7 separate regions of the Homo sapiens genome follow, and all the other regions are linked to region 1. Evidence: promoter capture Hi-C in 16 types of primary human blood cells and fetal thymus (Javierre and others, 2016). All regions are on one chromosome and are shown on one strand. Each heading gives the region's core, a stretch centred on a gene start or on the middle of the fragment in contact. The rest is flanking DNA. Distances are from core to core; before and after follow the strand shown. Region 1 holds the start of WDR49 (WD repeat domain 49). Region 2 overlaps LINC01327 (long intergenic non-protein coding RNA 1327). Region 3 has its middle 170 kb from the start of SERPINI1. Region 4 has its middle 27 kb from the start of LINC01327. Region 5 has its middle 140 kb from the start of SERPINI1. Region 6 has its middle 36 kb from the start of SERPINI2. Region 7 overlaps SERPINI2 (serpin family I member 2).

What was found. Contacts are between HindIII fragments. The CHiCAGO score rates a contact against its expected background, and 5 or more counts as called.
Region 2: a fragment that was not itself captured here is called in contact with the fragment with the promoter of WDR49 in region 1 in 6 of 17 cell types (M2 macrophages, monocytes, M1 macrophages and 3 more); the score reaches 17.5 in M2 macrophages.
Region 3: a fragment that was not itself captured here is called in contact with the fragment with the promoter of WDR49 in region 1 in 1 of 17 cell types (total B cells); the score reaches 6.6 in total B cells.
Region 4: a fragment that was not itself captured here is called in contact with the fragment with the promoter of WDR49 in region 1 in 4 of 17 cell types (M2 macrophages, M1 macrophages, monocytes and 1 more); the score reaches 9.3 in M2 macrophages.
Region 5: a fragment that was not itself captured here is called in contact with the fragment with the promoter of WDR49 in region 1 in 1 of 17 cell types (naive B cells); the score reaches 5.5 in naive B cells.
Region 6: a contact is called between a fragment that was not itself captured here and the fragment with the promoter of WDR49 in region 1, in 1 of 17 cell types (M2 macrophages). The highest score is 6.5, in M2 macrophages.
Region 7: a fragment that was not itself captured here is called in contact with the fragment with the promoter of WDR49 in region 1 in 4 of 17 cell types (M2 macrophages, M1 macrophages, monocytes and 1 more); the score reaches 6.6 in M2 macrophages.

What each region holds. Positions count from the first base shown.
Region 1 is chr3:167,651,780-167,655,584 of GRCh38, forward strand. It overlaps WDR49 (WD repeat domain 49), which reads right to left and starts at 2,163. Exons shown (of 19, transcript NM_001366157.1): 1 at 2,055-2,163; 2 at 1,482-1,720. The coding sequence starts at 1,646. RefSeq lists enhancers at 1,377-1,900, 1,901-2,423. The HindIII fragment of the contact is 616 bases long and covers 1,955-2,570 here.
Region 2 is chr3:167,401,561-167,405,365 of GRCh38, forward strand. All of the region lies in intron 3 of LINC01327 (long intergenic non-protein coding RNA 1327), which reads left to right. It also overlaps a transcript of ZBBX not described here. Among named protein-coding and RNA genes, the nearest start is that of LINC01327, 11 kb to the left of the region's middle. The HindIII fragment of the contact is 2,289 bases long and covers 815-3,103 here.
Region 3 is chr3:167,907,492-167,911,296 of GRCh38, forward strand. It overlaps the pseudogene LRRC77P. Among named protein-coding and RNA genes, the nearest start is that of SERPINI1, 170 kb to the left of the region's middle. The HindIII fragment of the contact is 1,269 bases long and covers 976-2,244 here.
Region 4 is chr3:167,418,325-167,422,129 of GRCh38, forward strand. No RefSeq gene overlaps it. Among named protein-coding and RNA genes, the nearest start is that of LINC01327, 27 kb to the left of the region's middle. The HindIII fragment of the contact is 3,500 bases long and covers 476-3,805 here.
Region 5 is chr3:167,874,392-167,878,196 of GRCh38, forward strand. No RefSeq gene overlaps it. Among named protein-coding and RNA genes, the nearest start is that of SERPINI1, 140 kb to the left of the region's middle. The HindIII fragment of the contact is 7,563 bases long and covers 1-3,805 here.
Region 6 is chr3:167,436,579-167,440,383 of GRCh38, forward strand. No RefSeq gene overlaps it. Among named protein-coding and RNA genes, the nearest start is that of SERPINI2, 36 kb to the right of the region's middle. The HindIII fragment of the contact is 8,061 bases long and covers 1-3,805 here.
Region 7 is chr3:167,454,769-167,458,573 of GRCh38, forward strand. The region is part of intron 5 of SERPINI2 (serpin family I member 2); the gene reads right to left. Among named protein-coding and RNA genes, the nearest start is that of SERPINI2, 17 kb to the right of the region's middle. The HindIII fragment of the contact is 8,519 bases long and covers 1-3,805 here.

The DNA.
Region 1 (3,805 bases), core at 913-3,412:
TAAAACTTGAGGTTGAATTTTCCAGTTTCACTTGGGTTCATTCAAGACTAATCTGCAGTTTGGAAAGAACACCCACCTCTAACCTTCTGAAGCAGTTTCACCAACACATCAACTTTATAATGTAGACTCTCCTAATAGGCCCTAGCATTCAAATTCTTTGTGTTCTTAGCACCGGAACAAAACTGCCACATTTCTGTTCACTATAGAGTCAAAGCTGTCATAATCTGCTGTTATGTTTTACTGAATGTCCTCAAGCTGTCAAAATGTTTGCTATGTCTATCAAAATATGCTAAATTTACTTGGGGCACTGGGCATGAGCAGCAGCAGTGAAATCTTTCAGACAAATGAGGTTGGTTGAATAGCAAATATATGAAGGTTGAAATGAGAAAAGTGTAGGACAGAGCATGTCTTGCTACTAAATATGATAAGTTCTATTATAAAGAAATGATTGATACTATTGGGACATTAATTTATCAATACAGGTGGAACCCAACTTGTTATATTCTTTTGTGGATATCCAAAGATAAAAATGTGTGCCTATTACAGGCTAATATATTGTGAGCTTTTATTATATTTTATTAATTTCCAGGTGGTATTCCAAAATATTTTCTATTTCAAATTAGTATGGATACTCCAAGCACCCACGGACAATCTTAAGAAGGCCCTAGATCATACTTTAGTAAACATAATATAGTAGAAATGTTGGAGGCTCATGACTACCTAAATTCTACGTCATGGAAGAGCACTTCTTTCTACCCATATTTGAAACTAAAAACCACTTTGATGTATGCTGTTCATTATGCATAGCTGCAGAATTCAAAATTCATTGACTAAGAGAGAAGAAAATTATTCATTTACAGTTAAATTCCTATGGTTTATTTTTTATGCAGAGTTAAAATGAAAAATTCTAATTTTGTTTTTATTGGCATTGTTCCAGGATTTACAAAATGAGTGGGAGACTCGTCCCTCATAAGGGATCTTGGGACAACAAAGTGCCAGAATCAGCTTAGAAAAGGAGCTGTGCCACTTAGGGTGAGTGAGACAGGAGGAAATTTTTTGCAAACTGGGTATGCATATTTGCATTTGCTGAGTTCTATGTCCGTATTAAATGCAAGAACAATTATTCCTGGAGGTCACCTTAGAGATCTGGCTTTCTTCACTCACAGCCATAATTTTTTGTTTCCCCAAAATATGTTGATCTCTAAGAAAAAAATTTTTTCCAACAATAAATAGTTCTTTCTTGATAGTAATGAAATTCAGTGAAGCAATTTCAAACTAAAGAATATTATTTGGCCCAAAGAACTGAGGGGCAAAGCTACCAAGCACATTGTGTTAAATCCAGGCCTAACCAATTATTTTTAATTCTCTGCTATAACAATTAAGTGTATTTTTTTAATGCTTAAAGAAAAATATCTCTGTGTTTCATTCTAGGCTCCTTCATGAACAACTCAAACTATCTGGTCAATAAGCTTCACACTTACCTCAAAGGCCTTCTGTATTTTTACAAAGTCACCCACGCTGAGTTGGTTTTCAAGCAGGCCTGTGCCATAGTCTTCAAATGCAGTTACACCTTCTGTTCTCTCAGGACTCTTTGGCCCAAGCTGTGACCCTATGTTTAACTCAAGTACAGCTTTCTGGCAACTCATAATGGCTTCACCTTTTCTCAGTTGCCTTCAACTATTTCTATAAGGATGGATCTTCTTTTTCCTTCAACAGGTGCCTTTGAAAAGAAACTCAACTTAGCAACAGAATTCCAAAATGAAAGTACAAACCTTTCAAGGCATACGATCAGGAGGCAAAATGTTCAAGCTGAGGTAGGAAATGAAAGCCCTCAACCCTCTCACTTATTTGATTCTAGAGTTTATTTTCAAAATTTACAGTTGAATGCTTTTAAAATGGTATTTTTACCCCTTCCTTATACTCTGTTTAACCTGGCTTGATTAAAAATGTGTAAAGCTTTCCCCACATTTATAGTAACTGACACAGAAAACAACTTCCAATCCTCATTTTAAATGCATTAGAAAAGCACCTTCCCAAAAATCTCTTTAACTAACCTTGCTTCCATTAACATGTTGTAGTTTTCAATTCCACTTTCTTGTCTGGAAGAGTTAGATGACAAAGCTGCAGAGTTTCCCTACCAATGAAGTACTTGACTCTGAATGCCACCTTCCCAGCAATGTGGAGTTGTTTGTTTCATCTGTTCTGATCCTTTTGTATGTTTCCTGGCAACCAACACAAAGCCAACTAAAACTTTCCCTTTCACTTCCCCCTCTCCAACTGAAAGTTTAAATATATAATGTAAATGTTGAAATGGTTTTTTTTGAAATAAAAGGACAGTTCATTCCACTCATTTTTTATTAAACGACATCTTGTATTATTTAAAGACAACTTTTACCATTATATAGGATATATATTATGAAACTATATGATTAGTCAAAGAGAAAAGCATGAAATTCTGGAATTTTATGTTTTATACACAGAAAATGTTTTATTTTTATATAAAAGGAATCTGTTTCTTATATTCTTTTTGTCTTAGTTTCTATGTATATAAAATAGAGATGGTTCAAAAAAGCTTCCAACTTGTTGAAAATGTGATAAAAAAACACAGCATAACATAATATGATAAATCTAATGATAAAATTGCTTGCAGTGTCATTACTGGTTCAGCTAATAATAATGAAAAGGAGGAGAAAAAGAAGAAAAATTAACATTTTTTGAGTATTAACCATGTGCCAGGCACTAAAACTTTATGTTCATTGTCTTGTTTAAGCTTCACAACAATCCTACAAGGCAGATGTGATCATTATCCCCATTTTACTGATAAAGAAGCAAAAAGCCGGGCAAGGTGGCTCACGCCTGTAATCCCTGCACTTTGGGAGGCTGAGGCAGGTGGATGGCTTCAGCTCAGGAGTTCGAGAGCAGCCTGGGCAACATGACGAGACATTGTATCTAGTAAAAATACAAAAATAATCAGCCGAGCATGGTGGCGCACACCTGTGATCCCAGCTACTCGGGAGGCTGAGTTAGAAGGATCCCTTGAACCTGGGGGGCAGAGGTTGCAGTGAGCCAAGATTGTGCCACTGCACTCCAGCCTGGGCAACAGAATGAGACCCTGTCTCAAAAAAGAAAAAAAAAAAAAGCAAAGAAAATGCCAAAGGTCACACAAATAGTAACATACGGAAGAGAACAGAATGGCTCCCAAACTTCAGATACTGCATGTATTAGTCTGTTTTCACACTGCTAATGAAGACATACCTGAGACTGGGTAATTTATAAAGGAAAGAGGTTTAATTGACTCATAATTTCACATGGCTGGGGAGGCCTCAAAATCATGACAGAAAGCTAATGAGGGCAAAGTCATGACTTACATGGCAGTAGGCAAGACAGCATGTGCAGGGTAACTCCCATTTATAAAACCATCAGATCTCATGAGACTTATTCACTACCAGGAGAACAGTATGGGGAAACCGCCCCCTTGAGTCAATTATCTCCACCTGGCCACGCCCTTGTCATGTGAGGATTATTACAATTCAAGGTGAGATTTGGGTGGGGACACTGCCCAACTGTATCACTGCACTTTAGATGGATGTGCCCGTTGCACTTTATTTTCACTTCTGTAAACTAAAAAGTTGGCATTACATCTTCTCTAGGGTCTCTTCCGGCTCTAACATTCTCTGAGCTGGTGTTCACTAGAGGCATGGTACAGAACAGAGAGAAGAGCATCCTGTAGGAGTTCCTGTACCCATTATAGAAAAAAATGAAGTTTCATTCATGCTTTCATTTTTTCATCCATCTCTCATTATTC
Region 2 (3,805 bases), core at 709-3,208, 250 kb before region 1:
TTTTTAGACCATATAGGGTAACTTCCTGATGTTGCCATGTCATCTGTAAACTGTCATGGCACTGGTGGGAGTGTAGCAGTGAGGACAACCAGAGGTCACTCATCACCATCTTGGTTTTGGTTGGTTTTAGTTGGCTTCTTTGAAGTAAACTGTTTTATCAGCAAGGTCTTTATGACCTGTATCTTCTGCCAACCTCCTATACTTAGAATGCCTTAACTGTCTGGGAATGCAGCCCCATGGGTCGCAGCCTCATTTTACCCAGCTCCTGTTCTAGACGGAGTTGCTCTGGTTCACACACCTCTGACATTATGAGAATGTCAAAAGATAAAATAAAAATCATATTTCCATATGGGACTGTCAATGAACCATGAAAGGCTTGATGAACTGATTTCCAGAGAAAGGTGCCCATTATAAGTAAGCAGTGAGATCTGGCAGGTCTGGATGCAGGACGAGCAGAAGAATGGTCAAGACCCAGGACTTTACTGGGTGGAAATGAAGCCATCTGAGCTATTGGCAACAGTGGAGATCGTGGGCTACATTACGGTCTGAAAGACTACCAAGCACAGTAATAGTTTGCTCAACGCAGTCATTCTCTCCACCTTATCCCAAGTTTGCTGAAAACAATGAAATTGAAGTAAGAACTGATAAGCAGACAGAAATCATTCAATCTGCTGCATCTCCCATATTCTCCCCATACCTGAAATTTAAAAATTCAAAGATATTGCAAGGAATCCCAAATAAAATCCTGATAAGCTCCATGAGACTAGCCCTTCCTTGGAAAACTGAATGTTGGCGATTGGGTTAACAAGAGGGAAGCTTCATCTCAGTCCCAGATAAATAAACCCTTGGTGAAATCTGAACAATCAACTCCCACTTTAGCCAACAGATGAAAAAATAACTTGAAATTTCTTGGCAAAAAGAAAATAAAAACCCAGTGTTAATCCTCTAACCCTATTTTTCTTCTATACTTAATTTCTACTATGCAATAACAAATTACGAGACCTACGTAGAGGCAGAAATAGGACTCACGCGCAAGGGAAAAAAATCACCAAAAGCAAACCACAGATGATCCAGATACTGGAATTAGCAGAAAATAATTTAAAAGATCTATCTTCAATAGGAAAATATGAGAATAGGTGGATAGGTGGGTAATCTCAGCAGAGAATAAAATAAAATAAGTAAGAAAAATTAGTTAAAAATTATATATCTGTAAACTACAATATGTAAAAAAAAAAAATAGATGAACTATACAGAAAAATCACAAAATAATCAAATGGTTAGTGACCTTGAAGACAGGTCAGGAGAACTTATCCAAAGTAAAGCATAGAAAAAAAGGCATAAACAAACTGTTAAATACATAACAAACTGTTAAAGACATAACAAACTGTTAAATCAAGCAGTCAAATATACCTGTAATTGGAAGAACAGAAGGATAGGAGAGGGAATAAGTCAGAGTACAAAAGATCTTGGAGAAACAATGACTGAAAAGTTTCCTTATATGTTTGAAAATACATACATCTACAAATCCAGGAAGGTCGCTGAATCTCCAATGGAGTAAATTTATGCAAAATGCACATAAGCATATAATTGTCAAACTGAAATCCAAAGGGAAAGAAAAAATTCTAACGGGTACCACAGTAAAGAATGCATCATGTAAGAGGGAGTAACAATCTCATTAACCCAACGCATTGACATTTTAAAGTGCTAAAAGAAAACAACTAAAAAACGATTATCAACTTAGAATCCTACATCCAGCAAAAATCGCCTTCAAAACTAAAGGTAAAATACATACTTTTTCAGATAAATGAATAAATAATAAATCAAAGCTGAGAGAATTTGTTGCCATCATATCTGCACTATAAGAAATGTCAAAACTTCTTCAATCTGAAGAGAAATGATACCAGTAGGAAATTCAGATCTGCAAAAATAATTGAAGAATGCCAAAAATGGTAAATAACAAGGTGAATATGCAAGCATTTTTTCTCCTAATTTGTTTGAAAGACACTTCACTATTTAAAATGAAACATTTATATTGTGAGGTTAATAATATATGAAAAAGTAAAATGCTTAAGAGCATTAAAAAACATGAAATGGGAATAAATAGAATTATAATTTGATGAGTGTCCTCTATGATATGTGAGGTGGAGTATATTAATTCAGTATAGAATATGGTAGGTTAAATGTGCATACTTTAGTCCCTAAAGCAAAGCAACTACTTAAAAATAAAATGAAGAAGTATAATAAAAATCTAACAGGTTATATAAAATAGAATGCTAACTTAATACTACTTTAAACTAATACTAGATTAAAAGGAGGCAGGAAAGTAAGATCAAGGAAACAAAAGAAGAACAAAAAATTAAAAATATAAATAAGATGTTAAACTTCAAGTAAATCATATCAATAATTGCATTAAATGTAAAATGACTACACATTCTGAAGAAAAAGCAATATTGTCAGAGGCGAAAAAAGTCAGCATACTAACAGTATACTGTACACCCTCTACAGAAATTGCATTTTAAACGCAACATGGATAGGTTGAAAGCAAACTCCTAATCATAAGAGACCTGGTTCGGCTATATGAATAGCCAACAAAGTAAACTTCAAAACAAGTAGTACCAAAGATAAAGAGATATTTCATAATGATAAATGGAATTCGTTAAAAAAATACATAATATTTCTAAGTGTGCATGCTACTTATAATAGAGCTTAAAAGTAAGCAAAGCAAAACTTTACAGAAACAAAAAAATAAGCGAATCTACAGAAGACATTAACATTTCTGCAAGTAGAAATAGACAAATTCATAGTTATAGTAGGAAATTGTATTACGAATAACCAGGGGTTTGCTCTAGGTCCCATTGCTCGCCACACAGAAAACCAATCACTGAGACAATGAGTATTGTCAGAGAAGAAGATTTTATTTGGGTGATGTCAGCTGGAGAGGTGGGAGGCAAACCCTAAATCCACTCTTCACTCTCCCACTCTCCCCCTTTCTCCACGCCCATTCAAGGGTTTATATAGCTGGGAAGGACAACAGAAGGGACAAGGAAAAGAAGTTGGTCAACAGACAGCAGGTGCATTTCATTATACAAATGTAAGTTTCTCAAGCTTCAGTTCTATAGACACCTGGCTTGTTGGAAAATTGGACTGACTTCAATTTCAGCATTCCTCTGTCAATAATTAATAGAACAATCATTTAACATGGAAATAATATGACCAGATTTGCTTTTTTTCCCCTCTGGTGGCATTGTCAAAAAGATATTGAAGAATGGAGAGACAGAGAAAAGGTTTACAAATTAGCAGCCATAACAATAATCTAGTGAAACAAGATGATGGCCTTAATTAATGCAGAAACTGGTCGGGGGGAGTAGAATGAAGCTAATAAACTGGAGATATATTTGGTGTTTGAAAATAATAGAAACTGGTCACTTAGATGTCTGATACAAGGGAGAGGTGGCAATAGGAAGACATCTAAAATTTTTAAGGGTTCTTGCTAGGAGACTGCATGGATGCTTTTTATTAAAAACATTGTGAAGAAGAAGAAGCACATCTGAGAGGAAAGGCAATGAGCTCTCTTTTGGACACTTTTGAAATGTCTGTGAGACATTGTTAAAAATGTCTACAGGGCAATTCAATATGTGAGTATGACATCAGGAAAGAGGTCAGGTTAGAGATAATTGCAGTGGTTGTAGTCACTGAAATGGTAGGAATACTCCAGTGAGGATAGAAAGAAGACCAAATGCAGAACCCTTGACCTCTGACATAAACAGTGCAGACAGCAGAAGAAGAAACTGCAATGAAGAAAAGA
Region 3 (3,805 bases), core at 360-2,859, 260 kb after region 1:
ATCTATCTATCTATCTATCTATCTATCTATCTATCTCATATTGGTTCTGTTTCTCAGGAGAACCCTGACTAATACACAGACATATCCAGGAGTAATGTTTCACCTGTTGTCTGGGTATCCCTTAATTCAGTCAAGTTGATATCTAAAATTAACCATCACACTAAATAAACCAGGTAGTCTCATTTAACATTTTCACACAGCACTTTAAATTTGCTGGAATAACTATGTTTTGCTATTATTATTTTATTCTATCAGGTTTTACAAGGGTAATAGTATAACAATCTGAATAACCGCCATCTGCAGTCCTTGATATACATAATGTTTGATTTCAATAAGCAACTTTCAATAGATTATAAATTCTGTAAGAACAGAGGCCATGCATTTCTCATGTCTTTTTTTGCATCCACAAAAGCCAATGAAATAATATTAGACATAATTCCTGCTTCAGTGAGTGTTTAGTCTCCAGGAAACATCAAATCTTCGCTATCTTCCATCTATATTAGCAGATTTGCAGTAATATTGTATATTGCACAATTTTACTGTTGATTTAGGAAAAGTGGCTTTAGGTCTATTCATCTGCTCATTTTCCCTCTCAGTGGATCCCCACATGATGCTTGTCTTCTTTCACTCAAACTCAGTTGGCAAAAGAAGGGGAACTAAAATAGCGTAATTTTCTTATACTTTGAGTAAAATATGTTCTTATGCTTCAACTTTGTCAGCTCTATTTGCAGCCAAGCACTGACTCCTATTTTTAAAATGTGAGTAGATAGTACTACTAGGGATAAATCAGAGTTGTCCTTTCGGGACCTTGGGAAGATTTTTTTTTTTTTCCCAAGAGTGAGAAATTGTGAAGAATTAGGAAGGAAGGACACCAAGAGAAGTGGTGGCTGAGTGTGTCACATGTGTCAGGAGTCCTCCAGCAAAAGGAAGAGAGAGCTACGTCACAGGCTAAAGCAGGAAGGATTTTAGTCCTTAAGCTTTAGTGTGTGAACAAATCATCTTGAGGTGTGTGAAAAGTCAGATTCCTGGGCCCTACGCCCACTGAATCTGATGTAAGGGATGGCGCCCAGAATCCAGATTTGTAAAAAATTATCACAGGGAATTCTGTTGTAGATGATTTGAAGGCCATACTATGAGAAACACTGGTTTAAGAGGTATGAAGAAAGGGAGAGAAGAAAGAAATTTGAATAGGAAGTGAATAGACTGATAAGTAAAAATGCTGGCATGAGTGTGTGAGTGCAGAGGCAGATGGTTGATAATTGTGGCAGCCATCATAAGGCAAAAAGAAATCGTATTCTGAGCACAAGTGCTGGGTCAGGGTTTAGAGAGAACTACAGAAACTAGAGATGACAAGGAAATAAAATGTGAGGGTAAACTGAAAATGAGCTTGTGCAGAGAATGTCCAAAGTTCTCCTTCTCTCCCTGACTTAAGTGGCCAGGTTATGTGCTGAGGTCATCACTCAGCAAAACCAATCCAATGTAATGACCATGGTGGCCATTCATGCAGAGGACATCATTGCTCTGCAGAGATAAAAGCACATTTTCCTTCTGTAGGTCATTAACAACACCCAATCTCTTGTAAGTGACTAGTCATAAAAGGACCAGAGCGTGATCTAGGGGATGGAAAACATTTGAAAAAATCCCATCTCCTCAAACCAGGGAGAAATAGATGTCCCTCCTTCATTGCTCTTAATTTTGTTTAAGTTTGTTTTGTGACGTGGAGAACAAATGCTTTTCAAAAGCACTTTGAGAAGAATTACCCTCCTTCTAGATTAGATCTGGAAACACCCATCAAAGCTACTTCGGTTTATCTCAATTGCCTCAATTGTACATTCAGAAAGAGCTCATAAGACAGGAAAGGTTATCTGGTGTGTGATAAACAGCAATTGCCTAAGGCTTCAATTGCCAGATCAAGACTGACTTAAATTTTCACAATTAAATAAAGCAAAAAAGTAAACTGGTGGCAGAATTCTTTTAAAGAATAGATTCTTTCCATTCAAAAATATCCCGGGAAGTTAGTTCAGTGACTGCTATTATGTGTTACAAATCCAGTGAGGGGACAAAGAACAGGCTGAGAGGGAGCAAGTGAAAGTCAACATCCCTGAACTGTCAGATATTCCAGACTGTAGTTCAGCTGCTAAGATATATCTTCAATTACCAACCAAGTCTGAGAAAAAAAAGAAAAATCCAATTTAATTCAACTCCTCACAGTGGAAGTGAACTTCGGCCCCCAACTTCAAAGAAAGCTTTGAAAGCTACTTTAAAAAGAAATAATTAAAAGAGCAGAAGATCAATAACACTCAAACAAACAATACAGGGAAGAGTTTAATAACTCTGGGTTATCTGATGTACAGAGAAAGCTGCCAAATTTGAAGTGGGGGTGGGTGAAAGACAATACAGCCTGAGGGTCTCCCTGCTCAATTAGGTGATTGCTCCAGTTTTCCACTTCTATGATTTTTAAATCCAAGCATCCTTATCAATGAAGAAGAACATTTCGTAACATAAGGATATTTTATTTGTAAGTCGGTTGAGATACTGCCTCATTCTGGGTCAAAGGATTTCCTGGGTGATAACAGCAGAGTTCATTATGAGAGAAATGACTGAAAGGGAAGTCTACACCCTGGCCTCCACCTGCCCCCGGTGTAAGAACTGATGTTCGTGCCGAAATAATAAAATACTGGACTCCCTCTTATTGCCTTCCATAAACTCTTCACAAATGAACTTACTACTTTCTATCATAGTCCACAAAAGCCCACAGGCCACAAAAGCAAAGTTTGTCTTTTGATGTCCTCAGTGTCCTTTTTCCTTTATTCTTTTACCTTTGAAATGAGGGGAGTCACGCATTCCAGAAACACAGAGTGGAGAAAGTGCATGCAAATGATACCAGATGTGACTCATAGAAATACACCATGATAGAGCTGGTAGGGAATTGAAGTAATTTAGTGTAGGGTTGCTTTCAGGGGCCTGGTTGACATAATATCAGAGTGAAGTTGACATAATATCAGAGGGAAGCACGAGAGAGTGTAGGGGCCTATGGCAATAAAAAAAGCCTATATTGTCCTTAAAGTACTAGAAATCAGTATTTTTGTAAAGCACCATACATGCCAAACAAACATGTTTTCTCACCAAATTCAGTTCGTGGTCAGCCCTTGATTTAGGTCTTCCCCCTATTTTTGCAGACATGAAAAACTGAAGATCAGGATATTAAAATTAGTCATCTGGAGTCCCACATTTACCTACCAGCCAACTTCAGACTGCAAACAGGACATTCTTTCCCTAACCCTGAAAGTTGTGTGCAAACCTTATTTGAAGGATGATAATGTTGGAAAATAGTGAGAAATGAGTTCAGAAATGGAAGTTGAGTTAAGATTATGGAAAGCCTTATCTGACAAGCTAGGATTTGTAGGCAAGAAGAAATTTCCGACATGTTTTCAGTAGTGAGTCCTGGGGTAAAAGCTGTGTTTTAGGAAGGTTGTATGGTAACGTTTGTTGTTTATATTGGAGGAGAGAATGTTGCAGGCAAGAAGATTCAAGAGAAAATAATTACAGTTTAAGTAGGAAGACATGAGAACCTGGACATTGAAAATGAAGGGACAGATTCTCAAAGGGAAAACTGCTAGGATAAGGTGACTAACTGAATTGAGACACAAAAGAGAAAGAAAATCAGGAATGACTTCACAATCCCCAAAGAGAAAATTATATGAAGATTAAATCACTATACTAGTGATTGTTCTCACTTGACTGGGCTAGAAATATTTATGTATGGTTAAAAGTTAATTCTAGGCCAGTAGTGGTGGCTCAAGCC
Region 4 (3,805 bases), core at 976-3,475, 230 kb before region 1:
TATACATGTGCCATGGTGGTTTGCTGCACCTATCAACCCGTCATCTAGGTTTTAAGCTCCACATGCATTAGGTATTTGTCCTAATACTCTCCCTCCCCCTGCTCCCCAACCCCAACAGGCCCCAGTGTGTGATATTTCCCTCCCTGTGTCCATGTGTTCTAATTTTTCAGCTCCCACTTATGAATGAGAACGTGCAGTGTTTGGTTTTCTGGTCCTGTGTTAGTTTGCCGAGGATGATGGTTTCCAGCTTCATCCATGTCCCTGCAGAGGATACGAACTCATTCTTTTTTATGGCTGCATAGTATTCCATGGTGTATATATGCCACATTTTCTTTATGTACTTTGTTAAAGAAAAATAAAAATGGAAGCCACAATTTAGACATACCCCAAGGTCAACTTCCTATAACCACGTAGCCAAAATTTAAGTCAATCTGATTCCCCAAAATGGTATCTTCAATTATAAACACAAAACATAAGCTTTGCATCCTTATCAGCATGATTCAGTGAAACTAAACAGCCCTGTTTGCCTTGAAAAGAATGTTAATGTATAAGTCTATCACAAAAAAAAAACAGTCAAAAATAGTTTTTCCTTTATGCTGTAAAAACTGTGCTGTAATTGCCGTAAGGCAAGCCTCTTATCAAGTCATTTGAAATCTCCCAGATCACGATGTATACTTTCTGTTTGACAATAAACTAAGTTTTTCCTAACTTGATCTGATTTTGTATTTGACAACTTCAATTTGATAACCCACTGCTGAACAGTATTTCCAGGATGCATCAGAGTCCTAGATCTTATGGGAAATGTAAAGACGATAAGATCCCCTTATGATGCAGTTAAAAAGAAGATATTATTCATTCTTGTCTCATTGTGGTATGAGCAGCTCAAAAAATAACTATTATGAAATAGAGGGAAGTGTTAGAAGAAGTAAAGTTGACAACACCTTGGATGACTTATTTGGAAAGGAAACATTTAAGTTAGGTCTTGAACCCAAATTAGAGTTTTTTCAGACAAATTTTGCAGAACGGGAAAGAAAAGCATCCCAAGGCAGAGGAAGCAGCTTAAACAGTCATCCAACGTGGGAGATTGGGGGTGTGTTGTATACCAAGCACAGATGAGTGAAGATGAGGTCTAGAAATGTGGGATAAAATTATAGAAGGCTTTGAATATTGGCTAAAGAGTCTTGCTTTTATTCTTCATACAATAAGTAATCATCATCTTTATCATTTATTTACATTCTTTCATATGGATTTTTTTTTGAGACATGATGTCACTCTATTGCTCAGACTAGAGTGCAGTGGTACAAACACGGCTCATTGCAGCCTCAACTTACCAGGATCAAGCAATCCTCTCACCTCAGATTCCCAAACAGCTGGGACTATACATGTGAAACACCACACCTGCATAATTTTGGGGGTTTTTCTGGTAGAGACGAGGTCTCACTATGTTGTACAGGATGGTTTCAAATTCCCCGACTCAAGCAATCCTCTCGCCTAGGCCTCCCAAAATGCTGGGATTACAGGCGTGAGCAACCATGCCTGGCCTCATATAGATTTTTAATGCAATCTTTTCTAATTAAATTTGTTTTCATTAAATTTTGTACTCTGGTGGCTTTTTTTCTATCACTGATTATTAGATCATTTTGAGTATAGCAAAAAAATATATATACATATATACATATATGTATATATGTATATGTATATGATAAGATGAGAGACGCAATATACCTCATTTCAGTTGTTCTCAAAGTGTGGTTCCCAAACCAGTAGCACAAGCATCTCCTAGAAACTTTTTAGAAATGCAGATTCTTAGGACACATCCCAGACATGCCAAATGAGAAATGTGGGGATTGGGGAATAGCAATCTGTGGGTTTTTTTTTTTTTTTTTTTTTTGATGGAGTCTTGTTCTGTGGCCCAGGCTGGAGTGCAGTGGTGCCATCTCCAGTCTCTGCAACCTCCGCCTCCCGGATTCAAGCAATTCTCCCTGCCTCAGCCTCCCGAGTAGCTGGGATTACAGGTGCCCACCACCATGCCTGGCTAAATTTTGTATTTTTTAGTAGAGACAGGGTTTTGCCATGTTGCAAGCCCTCCAAGTGACTCTGATACACAGCAAAGGGTGAGAATTACTGGCTTAGTGATTGGAGATGAGATCTTGAGACACAGAACCAGAGTTCAACGACCAATTCTGCCATTTGTCCTGAAGCAAAGTTCCTTAGCTTTGTGGAAAATCAATCTCCTCATTTTATAAAGGGTGACAGAGAGGTGAGGTTTATGTAAGACACTGTATATATTACTCAGAAATGGTAAGTCTCTCTAAATATTAGCTATTGTTAATTGCTAAAAAGTTAGCTTATTACAGAAAATTTGCTCTGTAATAACCAATGCACATCAAATGATTCAAATCTAATATGTGAATATAATCTAACAGAAAATCTGTTTTGGTCTCCACAGATGCCAGTTGAGAACTTGCTCAGATCAGCTTTTCTTCTGTAGTTTTCTGTGGAGCACTAAGCACATGATTTTAAATATCATTGGCAAAGCAATGTCTTCATTCCTCGCAAAATTTTTTATATTAGTCAAAAATTTGTTCAAGATAAATATTTTTAAAAGATGCCACTTCATTTCCACCACACACACACACACACACACACACACACACAGAGAGAGAGAGAGACAGACAGAGAGAGAGACAGAAATGAGAAGGTAAATGTTGCCTTTTTCTTATGGAAAGAATTTCAACCAAGAGACCTGTATGGGGGTAGACAGCAAAGCATCCCATTAGTGGGGCTTTCTATGTTCTGTTCTTTCTTCTCTTTGATGCAGATACATTATTATTATGGATCTGAGTGATTTTCATAGGCAAATACACTGAAATATCATTCATGATCTTCTTTCACAGAATTAGGCAAATTTAATAAGTATTCCAGAACTTTGTTTTACCATGTCCAGAACTAGGATAACATACACTACATGCTAATATATTTAAAACATGTATAAAGAATATAATTGTATTACTTATATGAATACTAGCTATCTAGTTCCTATAGCCTAACACCATAAGGTGTATTTGTTGCTGGAATCCTTGGTCAGTGGTGCTGACACAGGGGATAGAATGGATGTCATCCATGCAAACATTCAGGGACCATGGCTAGTGCAGCCTCTGCCATCTTCCATACAGGGCTTCCATGATCACCCTTAAAATGCTGAAATCCAGCTAATGGAATGGACAAAAGAAAAAGAAGAGTAGGCAAATTCTCTTCCTAACTACTATAACCAGAAGTAACAAATATCATTTCTGTTTATACTTCATTGGTGAGAACTGGTCAAGCAGTCCACCAGGTTCAAGGGAGATGGGAAATGCAGTCTCTGGCTGGATACTGGGTCAGTATTCACATGGTGTGTTTCCAAATTATCACAGGCAAAAATTTTACCAGATAGCTCCACAACTAAATAAGATTTCCTGCCTTCTAACCTGCTATTTCTTTGTTTTTGTTCTTGTTATGGCTCTCCAACTTCAAATTATGCCACATATTTTGCATTGTGTATAGAAGCCCCTATTGAAAATACCAAATTACCATCCACTACTGTCACCAAAACAGCCCCCAAAATAGCAATGAAAATATAACTTTCTCAGATTAAAGTCCAATGCAGGTATGACTGATTCGTTTTAGCCAAAGCTGCATAGGGGCTTTGTGACACACAAAACTAGTAAAATTCTGTCATCTTCTAACTATGGCTTACAGGGTCACCTTGAGCACTGGCATCAAGCTGGTACCAGAGAAGGGAACAATTAGGGAGGCACACTTG
Region 5 (3,805 bases), core at 577-3,076, 220 kb after region 1:
GATGGAAAATAATAACAACTCATAGGGTTGTTAAGAGGAATACATAAATTATTCATGTGCCCTGTATGGCACACAATAAGTCCTTATTAAATGAACCGGTTGTAGAACTGTATTAAGAACAAGTAGTAGTAGCTTCCATATTTAGAGAGCCATCAATTCTGTTTTCCAACAGCTCCATTAGTGAGAATTGTGCTGTGTGTTTTCCCCCCACCCCGCCCCACTACAACTGCATTGCTATATGCAAGGATATAACTTCTGTCTCTAAAACTATTCAAATAGTGAGCCTGGGAAAAACAAACTTAGGTCAAAAGAGTTTGACTAAACTGGCTGAGAACATTTAAGTTGGATAAAAATAGATGTATTTTGTTTGTATAAATAGATTTTGGTCATGAGAAAGAAATAAAGAGGTTCCTCTCAAAAGAAAGCCTGGTTTAGCAGTCAGTAAACATTGGGAAGAGTCAGCAGTTGACTTCCCCACTGTGTGGAAGAAACTGCCAAAAGCCCATCCAGAATTAGGTGTGTGGGAGGGAAGAACAAAGGAGAGGCAAACAAGAAGCTGTCACTATTCACCACTTTCACCTTGAATAACCTTTAATTGAAAAATAAAGTTGCCAAAACAAGGAGTAAAAGAAAAACTACCATTTTATTCCCTCCTTGAGATTGAATTAGAGGGAAACATACTGACCACAGTAATCCCAAGGTTGGACTCACATGATGGCAAATGTCACTTAGTTCTAAAGCTCTAATTAGAAACAGGGCTGAAGTTTTAGCCAGCTCCTGCTACTAGAAATAAAACATGAGGCAACAGCAACCCAAGCCCTGGACACCCCCTGACAGTGAACTCTGAGGTGCTTTCTGAGTGAGTTGAGTATAAAGCTGACAGAGCCTAGAGAATTCATACTTGAGCAAATATTGGGAAAGAATAAACTGGGTCAGTTACCACCTGTTTCTAGATTTTATTTTTTTCTAGACTTCAACTAAGATTGTCTTTCACATTAATAAGAAGAACGATGAACATAATCTATTTCATCCAACTTCTACATTCCAGGCACAGTATCAACCACTTTATTACATTTTATCTTCTGTAATATTCACAGTGTTATTGGGTAGATTAAACAACTTGCCCAAGTTCACACAACTGGTGACTGGCAGAAATGGGATTTGAACTTATTTGATGCCAGAGGAGGTGTATCCTTTAATATTTTAGAATAACTTATTTATTTCATTATATTTTATGAACCTTGAAATATGTTTATTGTAAAAAAAAAACGCAGAAAATACAGACAGGCTAAGTAAAATGTGTCTTTACATTAAAGTATTTAATTTGCAAAAGAACAGTTGTTATTTTAAAATCCTACCCCACAGTTTTTCATATTTCTCTTTCTATGTAGGGTTAATCTCATCAGGAATTTCTCTTATCCATCCACAGTTTGTAGGACAATTCTTTGCACATAATGGGCACTCAAATGTACGCAGATCATATTAGTCCAAGAAAAAGCTGCTTGTTGGGGCTACCAAGCCAGCATGGTAACACCTTACAATCACCCTTTCTACCTGCAGTCACATTGTTCCCAGAGTGGGGTGGTGATACTTGCCAGCTAGCCCAAGTTTCTGGATATAGACCTTTAACAACTTCACAAGTACCCTTAGAAAATTCGGTTAAGACCGAACATGGACATGCTTGCTCCATTTTTTTCCACTCTCAAAATATCCTTGAGCAGTAACTCATTCATAGATAAGAAAAACTTTTTCTCTTCAGTTTTTTCTTTTCTTTTTGAATATTCTTTGATTTTAGCAGAAATAGGCACAGTAAAAGAATAAATATAAGAGACGAAGAATAAAATTTATGAAATTTAGAAAGCTCATGTTAGAGAATTGTACTCTTTAGGTAGATCCTTATTTAAAGAATAATTAGAGGAAAGAAAACAAAAGATGAAAGAGTACAAATGAGATTCCTGAGCAGTTTTTTATTTTGATTGATAAACTTTTAAAATGTGTTTGAATTACAATATTTATATATCAGGAATATGAAAGGTTTAATCATAAAAATTACATAATATTTCTTCCAACATTTTCATCTTGTCCATTTCTTCATATCTATAGTGGAGAATTATCCCTCTGTAGGCAAGAAGAAGTCTTTATTCTCTTCGGAAGCTGCTCCTCTTGCACTCCAAAATATAGTTCTGATGGAAGCTGCCAATCACTTTATCCCATTCCCAGAACAGGCATGGTACCAGACTGAGGTCAATCCTATACTCCACCTTATTTGCCATGGAAAATAGCCTAGCGATACTTGCATGACTCAGGGCAGTTGGAGTAGTTTGATGGAATTTTTTAAACCACAGCTGACAGGAAGTAGCTCTGTTCCTTATTAGTTGCAAATGCTGCAAGCATATGACCCTAGAGTTATCTGTTGCCAGTTGTTGCCTTGTGGAGATCATAGGCTTAAGATGATGAAGGCAGCAATCAGCAATAAGCAGAGGTGTGCTTGTGTGTGTGTGTGTGTGTGTGTGTGTGTGTGTGTCAGAATGAGAGAGAGAGAAAAATTACTGCTTCTGAAACCAAATCCATTTCCAAGGTGTGGTTTTAGAAGCAAATAAATTGCCAATTTCAGAGCTGATTCAAGTTGAATTTTTGTCCTGTAACCAAAAGAGTCCTGACTAACAGCCAAAACTCAGGCTGTCAAGTAAACATAATCTGTAAGAATCCGCTTTCCAGCCTCCATTCCCCTTGACATCTTCCTGAAAGAAGATTTGTATAGGAAATGCTGACGTCTCTTTGGCAACTGCATAAAAATTATTGTATTCAACAAATTTATTATATGTCTCTTTGTGGCCAGGCAGCTTGCTTGGCACTGGAAATTGGCTAGGGAGATTGGGGCAAGAAAAATACCTCTCTCCATGGTGGAGGCATACATAAAAGCCGATTGCTACACAACTGCGTAAGAAGTGCTTTAATCAAAGCCTGAATAAAGTGTTGTGGAAACTCAAAGGAGCAAGCAAAATGCTTCACATGAAAGTTGGACATTCGAGTCAAAGACTCACAGGATTTTCCCAAGCAGAAAAGAAAGGAGAGGACATCATGGACAGAGGAAATAGCATGGTGCAAAGGCATGGTATGAAAAAAATACACGACAAATTTGTGGAATAACAGAACTTTTGATGTGATCACAGCATAATGTGGAGTTGGGTAACAGTGAGGGATTAGGCTAACCAGCTTGGCAGAATACTGACTAAAAATTCTTAAATGCTGTGCTAAGTTGTTAGAATTTTATCTTACAGGTTTTGAGAAGCCATCTGCAGCTCACAACTAGATGAGTGACACAATCAGATGTGCGTATGCAAGTAGGTAATGAACATCCATGTAACCATCACCCTGAGTCAATAACTATCCCTTCATGGGTGAAGTTGGGCAACTTTTCATATGGTTAACAACAATTGGCCAGGCACGGTGGCTCACACCTGTAATCCTAACACTTTGGGAGGCCGAGGTCGGTGGATCATTTGAGGTCAGGAGTTCGAAACCAGCCTGGCCAACATGGGGAAACCCTGTCTCTACTAAAACTACAAAAAAAAAAAAAATTAGCTGGGCATAGTAGCAAATGCCTGTAATCCCAGCTACTCAGGAGGCTGAGGCAGGAGAATTGCTTGAACCCAGGAGGAGGCAGAGGTTGCAGTGAGCCGAGACTGCACCACTGCCCTCCAGCTTGGGTGACAGAGCAAGACTCCATCTCAAAAAAAAAAAAATCCTTTTTTTTATTATCATCAATTTTCTGCAGACCAGTCCATTCTACTATAGAATTCCT
Region 6 (3,805 bases), core at 788-3,287, 220 kb before region 1:
CTAGGTTCCCACACCACCCCTAATCCCACTCAAAGCAGCCCTGAGAAACATCGCCCATTATCTCTCCATACCATCCCCCAAAATTTTTGCCGCCCCAACCTTTTACCACTATTTCATTTTATTTTTCTTATTAATATAAGAAGACAGGAATGTCAGGCCTCTGAGGCCAAGCTAAGCCATCATATCCCCTGTGACCTGCACGTCCACATACAGATGGCCGGTTCCTGCCTTAACTGATGACATTCCACCACAAAAGAAATGAAAATGGCCTGTTTCTGCCTTAACTGATAGCATTACCTTGTGAAATTCCTTCTCCTGGCTCATCCTGGCTCAAAAGCTCCCCTACTGAGCACCTTGTGACCCCTACTCCTGCCTGCCAGAGAACAACCCCCTCTTTTCCTTTACCTACCCAAATCCTATAAAACGGCCCCACCCCTATCTACCTTCACTGACTCTCTTTTCGGACTCAGCCCACCTGCACCCAGGTGAAATAAACAGCTTTATTGCTCACACAAATCCTGTTTAGTGGTCTCTTCACACAGACACGAGTGAAAGAATGTACTTTTGTTTTTTGTAAAATAACTGCTTATAGACAATAAAAACTCAAAAGACATTATTTCAAAGATGTGTCTTTGAGGAGAAGCCCAAGGTTTGCCAAGATAGAACTTTGGAATAAAGACTTGAAATAGGATTAGTCCAACCAATCCTTCATTTTATAGGTGAGGGCATTGAAGCTCCAGAGAATTGATGTGACAAGCCAAAAATTATAATGTTGGACAGTGAAAAATATGTCATCTTTTAATTCCTTTACATCATCAGGGTGGTCACTTGAGGAATCAAAAGGAGAAAGAAACTAGATTATTGACATTTAGAATTTTAGGCTTCAGATTTAGAGATTATCATATGAGGAACCATGACAATAAGGGGAGGAAGGAATCACAAAATTAAGTGCTCTTGCAAGCAAACAAATTAAGTAGGTCCACACTTCTACCATATGCTTGTAATCAGACTCAGGCCAATCCATGGCTCAGGGGGTTGGTCCTTCATAGAGTATGCTTCAATGGTATAAGGCTACAAAATGAGGAAGTATCTTATTTCCAGAGGTCCAAGGCACAGACTTTTAATGAAACCTGCCTAAAGTTTTCTCTGTACCTTTGAAGGTTTCCATGTCATCATTACCCAATTCAGGAGATTTTATAAGCCTCTCCAAAGAAAGAAATTATTCCTTTTCTCAGGTCTTTGGCTTTTCAGTTGTACTGCGTGATGTGGCAGACTCTGAGATGAAGCAGGGATCCCTCCTACGGGCCTGCCACCCCCAAGGCATGGAAATAAAGGAAAATTTTGAGTTCCTTCCAGGGAAATTCCAGGCACCAACCTAGCCCTGAGAAGTAAATGAGCAACCTGATAAGCAAGAATGCTGTAATAGCTGAAAACAATAGCCAAGGAAGCTAGAGCCACAGAGTTTGCTTCTCTATAGAAATTAAAGGTAAAGTCTTCACATATGTCCCTGAGTTGTTTTTCAGAGACCTGGACCCCTCACCACATGGAAAAGCCATCTGCTGGCACATAGATCTCAGATAGGGTGGAACAGAGGACTAAATTCTGTCATTCTTTGTTCTAAATTTCTTCCTGAGGGTCCTGAAGGAAATTATGCTCACAGGCCAGAGCTCAACTCTCCTTTCAGCTGACCCACACTTTTAGACAAAGCCAAACCAATCACAAATCAGAAAATATTTGCATCCACCTGTGATCTGTGGGCCATGCCACCCTCCCCACTCACCTGATTTGAGATGTCCCACCTTTTTAGGCCAAACCAACGTATAGCCTCCATGTACTGATTTATAGCTTTGCCTGTAACCTCTGCCTCCCTGCCTTTAAAAACTCTTACAGTTAAGCCACTGGGTATTTCAGATCTTAAGCATGAGCTGCCTGATTTTCCTTGCTTGCCACCCTGCGATAAATGCCTCACTTTTTCTTCTTGCAAATCCCAATGTCATTGTTTGGCCTTGCTGTGCCAGGCAGGCAGACCCAAGTTCAGTCTGGTAACAACTCCTCTAGAATACGCCATGAATTATAGCTATGTGAAGTCAATAAAACCCAAAGTTTCCAAAAGAAATACTACTATTTTAATAATTATTTTGCCTCCATGAGGAATACAAATATTTCCTATATATGATGTACTGGACTTTTACAAGGGGTATTGACAGTAATTTTATCCCATATTGATTATGGACTGTTGTGAATCCTACAGATTTCATACAGTTTAGCAAAGAAAATTATTTCATACTTATTTTCCTTCATAAATAGATGTATGTTTTGTAAATGTATTCCATATACTTGTAACCTTTATGATGCAAACTTGTAATAACTACTGAGTTACTTACAACTGAAGGAAAAAATTAAATGTTTTAATTTTGGAAGTAGTTCGGCAAATGTATTTCCAGAACATGGTAGAAAATGGGGTTTTTATCTTGAATCCACACAATGAGCTTATGGAAGACACTCCCATTTTTAAGCCAAATGGAAGAAGAACATGAAATCAGAAAAATAAATTACCCAACTTCTGTATAATGCTTTCAGGATCCTCAGTCGGGAACTCGTGGCAGACTTTTAGCAAATCTTATTAAGGAAAACAAATACATTAGGAACACACTGTAAGAATATGTACTTAAAGTGAAACTTGGGTAGTGATCTTATTACATCATCTCAATTATTGAACCCCTCTTATTTTCTTCTTCTGCTTTATTAATGTCATCAGTTATTACCATTTGAAATTACCTTGTTTTTGTATTTGTTCACTGGTTTACTGCTACCAGTAAAATGTCAGCTCCAGGAAGACAAGGACCTTGTCAGATTTGCTCACTAATACATCCCTTGTGCTTAGAAAACTACCTGGAACATAGTGGAAGCTCAATTAAAATTTGTAGAATGAATGAATGAATCCCCAGAGCATGACATTTAATGCATGAAAGAGGATCAGAAGAATTCAGCCAACCCAAGAGAAACAGGAATCTGGACCACAGCTGAATAAAACTACTATCCTCTTAACTCATTATTCTCTCCTTCCTGAAACAAAGACTTATATTTTTAAAACAGATATGTTGTGAGGAATTTATGCCACAAATGCATATTACTAACATATAGATTAGTATTTACTGTGTTATATCTAAGTATGCTCAAATTGAAAGTAGAGTAATGAACATTGCTTTCAATTATGTTATGATTTTTAAGCAATCACAATTCATTCTAAAGTTGGCTTCATAATGTCTTGAGTATTGCTGTAGGTTTTGCTGTAGATGGATACCTAGATTTTGAAAATTAAAATAGAAGGTGGAGGGCAGCAGAATATGCCACCCCAAAAGATGCCACTTTAGCATAAGGGTTATTTTGAGCTAAAGGCAACTGAGAAGAAGTAGATACAGGAAAAGTTATTTGCCTTGCCTAAACAATTTGCCTAAAAACAGAATACAAATTCACAAAGTTATCCCTCCTCCTCTCTCTACCAAGTAGGACAGAATTTGATCACTGAAGATGACTTAAGACCCTTATCATCCTGGAGATATCACCACAGGAATCTACATAACAAATTTTACAAAATAGCCTTTATCTACCATATATTTGCCTTCCTACAATTTACTGCCCTTATAAATCCAAGGTCCTTTTCCTTTGTCATTTCTTCAACCATGTATTGTTCTTTGTCGAAGATGCTATGTAAGCCAGAGTTCTAAGCCACTTCTTTGAGATTTACTCATTTTTTCCTGGGTGTCTTCTATGTGTACATGTGGTATACATGTTAACAAATGTC
Region 7 (3,805 bases), core at 439-2,938, 200 kb before region 1:
TTCCTAATTATCCATAATTATTGGAGCCATGAATAGCCAGGTGTGAAGAAGCACTGCCATGTGTTAGGTACTTAAGATAAATTATAGTTTTTAATCTTTAGAAAAATCTAAGGAAGTCGGCATTATTTCCATTAACGTATAAGAAAATAGAAGCCTGAGGAGGTTAATTTTCAGGCTTAAGGTTAAGGTAGGTTCCAGAGGTATGATTTAAACTCAGGTCTATTTGAAGTCAAAGCTAATGTGCTAACTGCCACTACTTTCTAATCAAAATGTAATTCAACACCACCATATTGGTCAATATATATAATGTCCCTCTTCCAAAGTTTATGAGTCTTCATATTTCTCCCAGTTGTGGTTCATTTTCCCTTTTCCTTAATCCTCCTCTAAAATTGTCAAAAGAACAGCAGGCAAAAGTAGAAGAATGAGCAGCAAAATGCTAGATAAACAATTAGCAACTAAATCATGAATGGAATTTTTAGCATATGCAAATAATATCTATTTGTTTAAAAGAGAGTAATTCACTCCCAAATGTAACCATTGTGCTGAAACAGATCTCACAAAGGGAAAAGCTGCAGAAAAATGAAAAACAATCCCAATTTTTGTTTTAAGAATGACCTACTTCTGGCCTCCAGGCCCTGTTGGGGAATGGTATTGGCCCTTCCTTTCCCCTTATCCCCAGAGTTCTTGTTTAATGAAAAAAAGTCTTGGATCAATTTCCCTCTGGGTTTGTGTTATCATCTGAAATCCCAGCTTTGGTACAGTGGGCTTGAATCATTCTTGGTGTATTAGGCTATTCTCACACTGCTATAAAGAAATACGAGTCTCAAAAAAAAAAAAAGAAAAGAAAAGAAAAGAAAAGAAAAAAGAAATACCTGAGACTGGGTAATTTATAAAGAAAAGAAGTTTAATTGGTTCACAGTTCCAAAGGCTGTACAGGGAGCATGATGCTGGCATTTGTTGGTTACCAGGGAGGTATCAGGAAACTTACAATCATGGCTGAAGGCAAAGAGGAATGGGCACATCTTACATGGCTGGAATAGGAGGAAGAGAAACAGGGGGCAGGGGCTACACACTTTTGAACAACCAAATCTCGTGAGAACTCTACGATGAGCACAGCACTGAAGGGGGAAATTTGCCCCCATGATCCCATCACTTTCCACCAGGCCCCATCTCCAACACTGGGGATTGCAATTTGACATGAGATTTGGGTGGGGACATAAATCCAAACCATATCACTTGTACTGTTCAGAGCTGGAACCAACCAAACCAAATCTTAGGGTTGCTCATGAGGAGAAAAATACAACACAATCTTTGACAATGGTGGCCCTAGATGGTTATGTGAGTACACAGTAAATTCTGGTCACTTTCCAATCAATTACCTCTGTGTGTGTGTGTGTGTGTGTGTGTGTGTGTGTGTGTGTAAAATAATTAAAATACTCTATTAACGTCACAGGCTGAATTTAAAATACTTTCACATATGAAACATCTGGATAATGTTTAATGTATGCCTAGTATTCCCATTTTTATCCATGTCCAATAGGTCAAAGTAAACGAACATTTTGTAATCACTACTGCAGCTGGTCACAACGTATCTATTCTCATATCCAGTCTCATTTTCCTTGCCTTCCTGCCACCCACACACAATTTACATTCACCCACTTATAGATCCAAGGCTGGCCAAGCCTAGAATTAATTTCTAGCCAGCAAAAAGATGATCATTTATGTCCTGTGGTAAGTGTTACATCTTTTGAAAAGTCTCCTTGGTACGGCTACTCCAGATCTCTCATCCTACTGCTCACCCTATCACTGACTGTTTGTTCTGTTCTGTGCTCCCTCTCTTGCTTGCCCTACAGTCACCTGTTTTCAGACGTCTGGCTGACCTCTTCTAGTATTGGCTCAGCCATTAATTAGCTGTGTGACCATAGGCAAGGTATTTACCTGTCTCCATCTTGTCTGTAACCTTAATGTAAAACTAGACCTTCATCAAATTGATTGAGGAATTTAATGCGATATGATGGGGGGCCACCTATTACAATGTTGGCATTATAATATATGGCCACTGTTAGAATTAAATGAGTAATAATACAAATAATATTTAGCTAATATTGAGCACTAAAAATTGTATACACATTATCTCATGGAATCCTCACAACACTAAGAGGCATGTGTTATCATTACTGCATTTAACAGTATAAGAAAAATCTTAGAAAAGTAATTTGCTTAAAGTTATATAGTAAGAAAGTGGCAGGGCTCTGGGTCTTCAATATTATTTTCAGTAATCTGGTTTCAACAATTGACAAAAGGTACTGTGAGGTGCCACATCAGTCAATATTTTTAAAGAATGATATCTCTCACAAAGACTATGGCTATTATTAAGATAATACTATACTTTTGAATAGAACTGTAGTGCTTAACAAGTTTAAAGGCCGAGATTTCCAAAAATTCAGTGAGAACTATAAAGCCTCTCCCAAGGAAAATACATGCATAACCTTACATGCATAAACTTGCAAATAATTTCAGGGCTTCAAGGACCCTTGGAAGTATATCCTAGACCTCTCTAGAAGTCCATGGTGCCCAGGTAAGGACTACTACAAAACAGCAAGAATTCACAGCCCTCTTGTTTTCTAGTAAGTTGAGCCTGGAACCCCCAAACAACCTATTTCTTCTTAACCCATATCTAGTTAGTCACACATTTCAATAATTTCACCAGTTCCTTACTATTCCCAGTGAGGCTGCTCCCTTTAAACACTCTTTACTTAATGTCCGAGTTGTTGCAGTGGTTTTTTAACTGATCTTTTAGGCTTTAGTCTTTCCCTCTTTAACAAATCCAGGTTATTACCACTACTCAGTTTAAAGCAACAAATCCTCATTGAATAGCTACTATTTTTTATATACATGCTTTTTGCTGCAGTCACAGAGAGGAAACATGCCTAGCTCTTCACCTCAAGTAGCTTATGGGTCAGAGGGGAAGATAAACAATTCATTTTAATATAACTGCTATGCAGAAATAAACACAAGGTACTAGAACTTTCCCAATGGGGAGAAGGGAAGATGCTTGTATGATATTGCATGGAGAGATCAGAAAGGCTTTCTAAAACCCAAACTTAATTTTAAGGACAAATAGAAGTTTTATAGAAAAATAGGAACCGTTGGCAGGGGTGGGGGATAAATGAGGAAGAGGGAAATTTTTCAGACAAGTTATCCAGGGTGAACAATTCTGACTACTACATAGATCTTTCTAAAACACTGACTTAATCATTTCATTGTCTTACTTGGACATATTCAACAATTCTTCATTGCATATAGGATTTATTCTTCAACTCTTTTAAAACCCAACTCAAGTCCTTCTTTCATGAAGCCTTTGTTTACAATTCATTTCCTGTGCACTCTCCGTTTTTGTGAACCTTCTAATGCTTACTTATACGATTCTTTTAGTACTTACTGTACATTGCTGTGTAGTCTTAGTGAATTTCTTTCTTTTTTTTTTTTTTTTTTTTTTTGAGACGGAGTCTCACTCTGTCGCCCAGGCTGGAGTGCAGTGGCATGATCTGGGCTCTCTGCAAGCTCCGCCTCCCAGGTTCACGCCATTTTCCTGCCTCAGCCTCCCGAGTAGCTGGGACTACAGGCGCCTGCCACCACGCCTGGCTAATTGTTTGTATTTTTTTTTTTTTTTTTAGTAGAGACGGGGTTTAACGGTGTGAGCCAGGATGGTCTCGATCTCCTGACCTCGTGATCTGCCCACCTCGGCCTCCTAAAGTGCCGGGTCTACAGGCGTGAGCCACCGCTCCCGGCTGTCTTAGTGAAT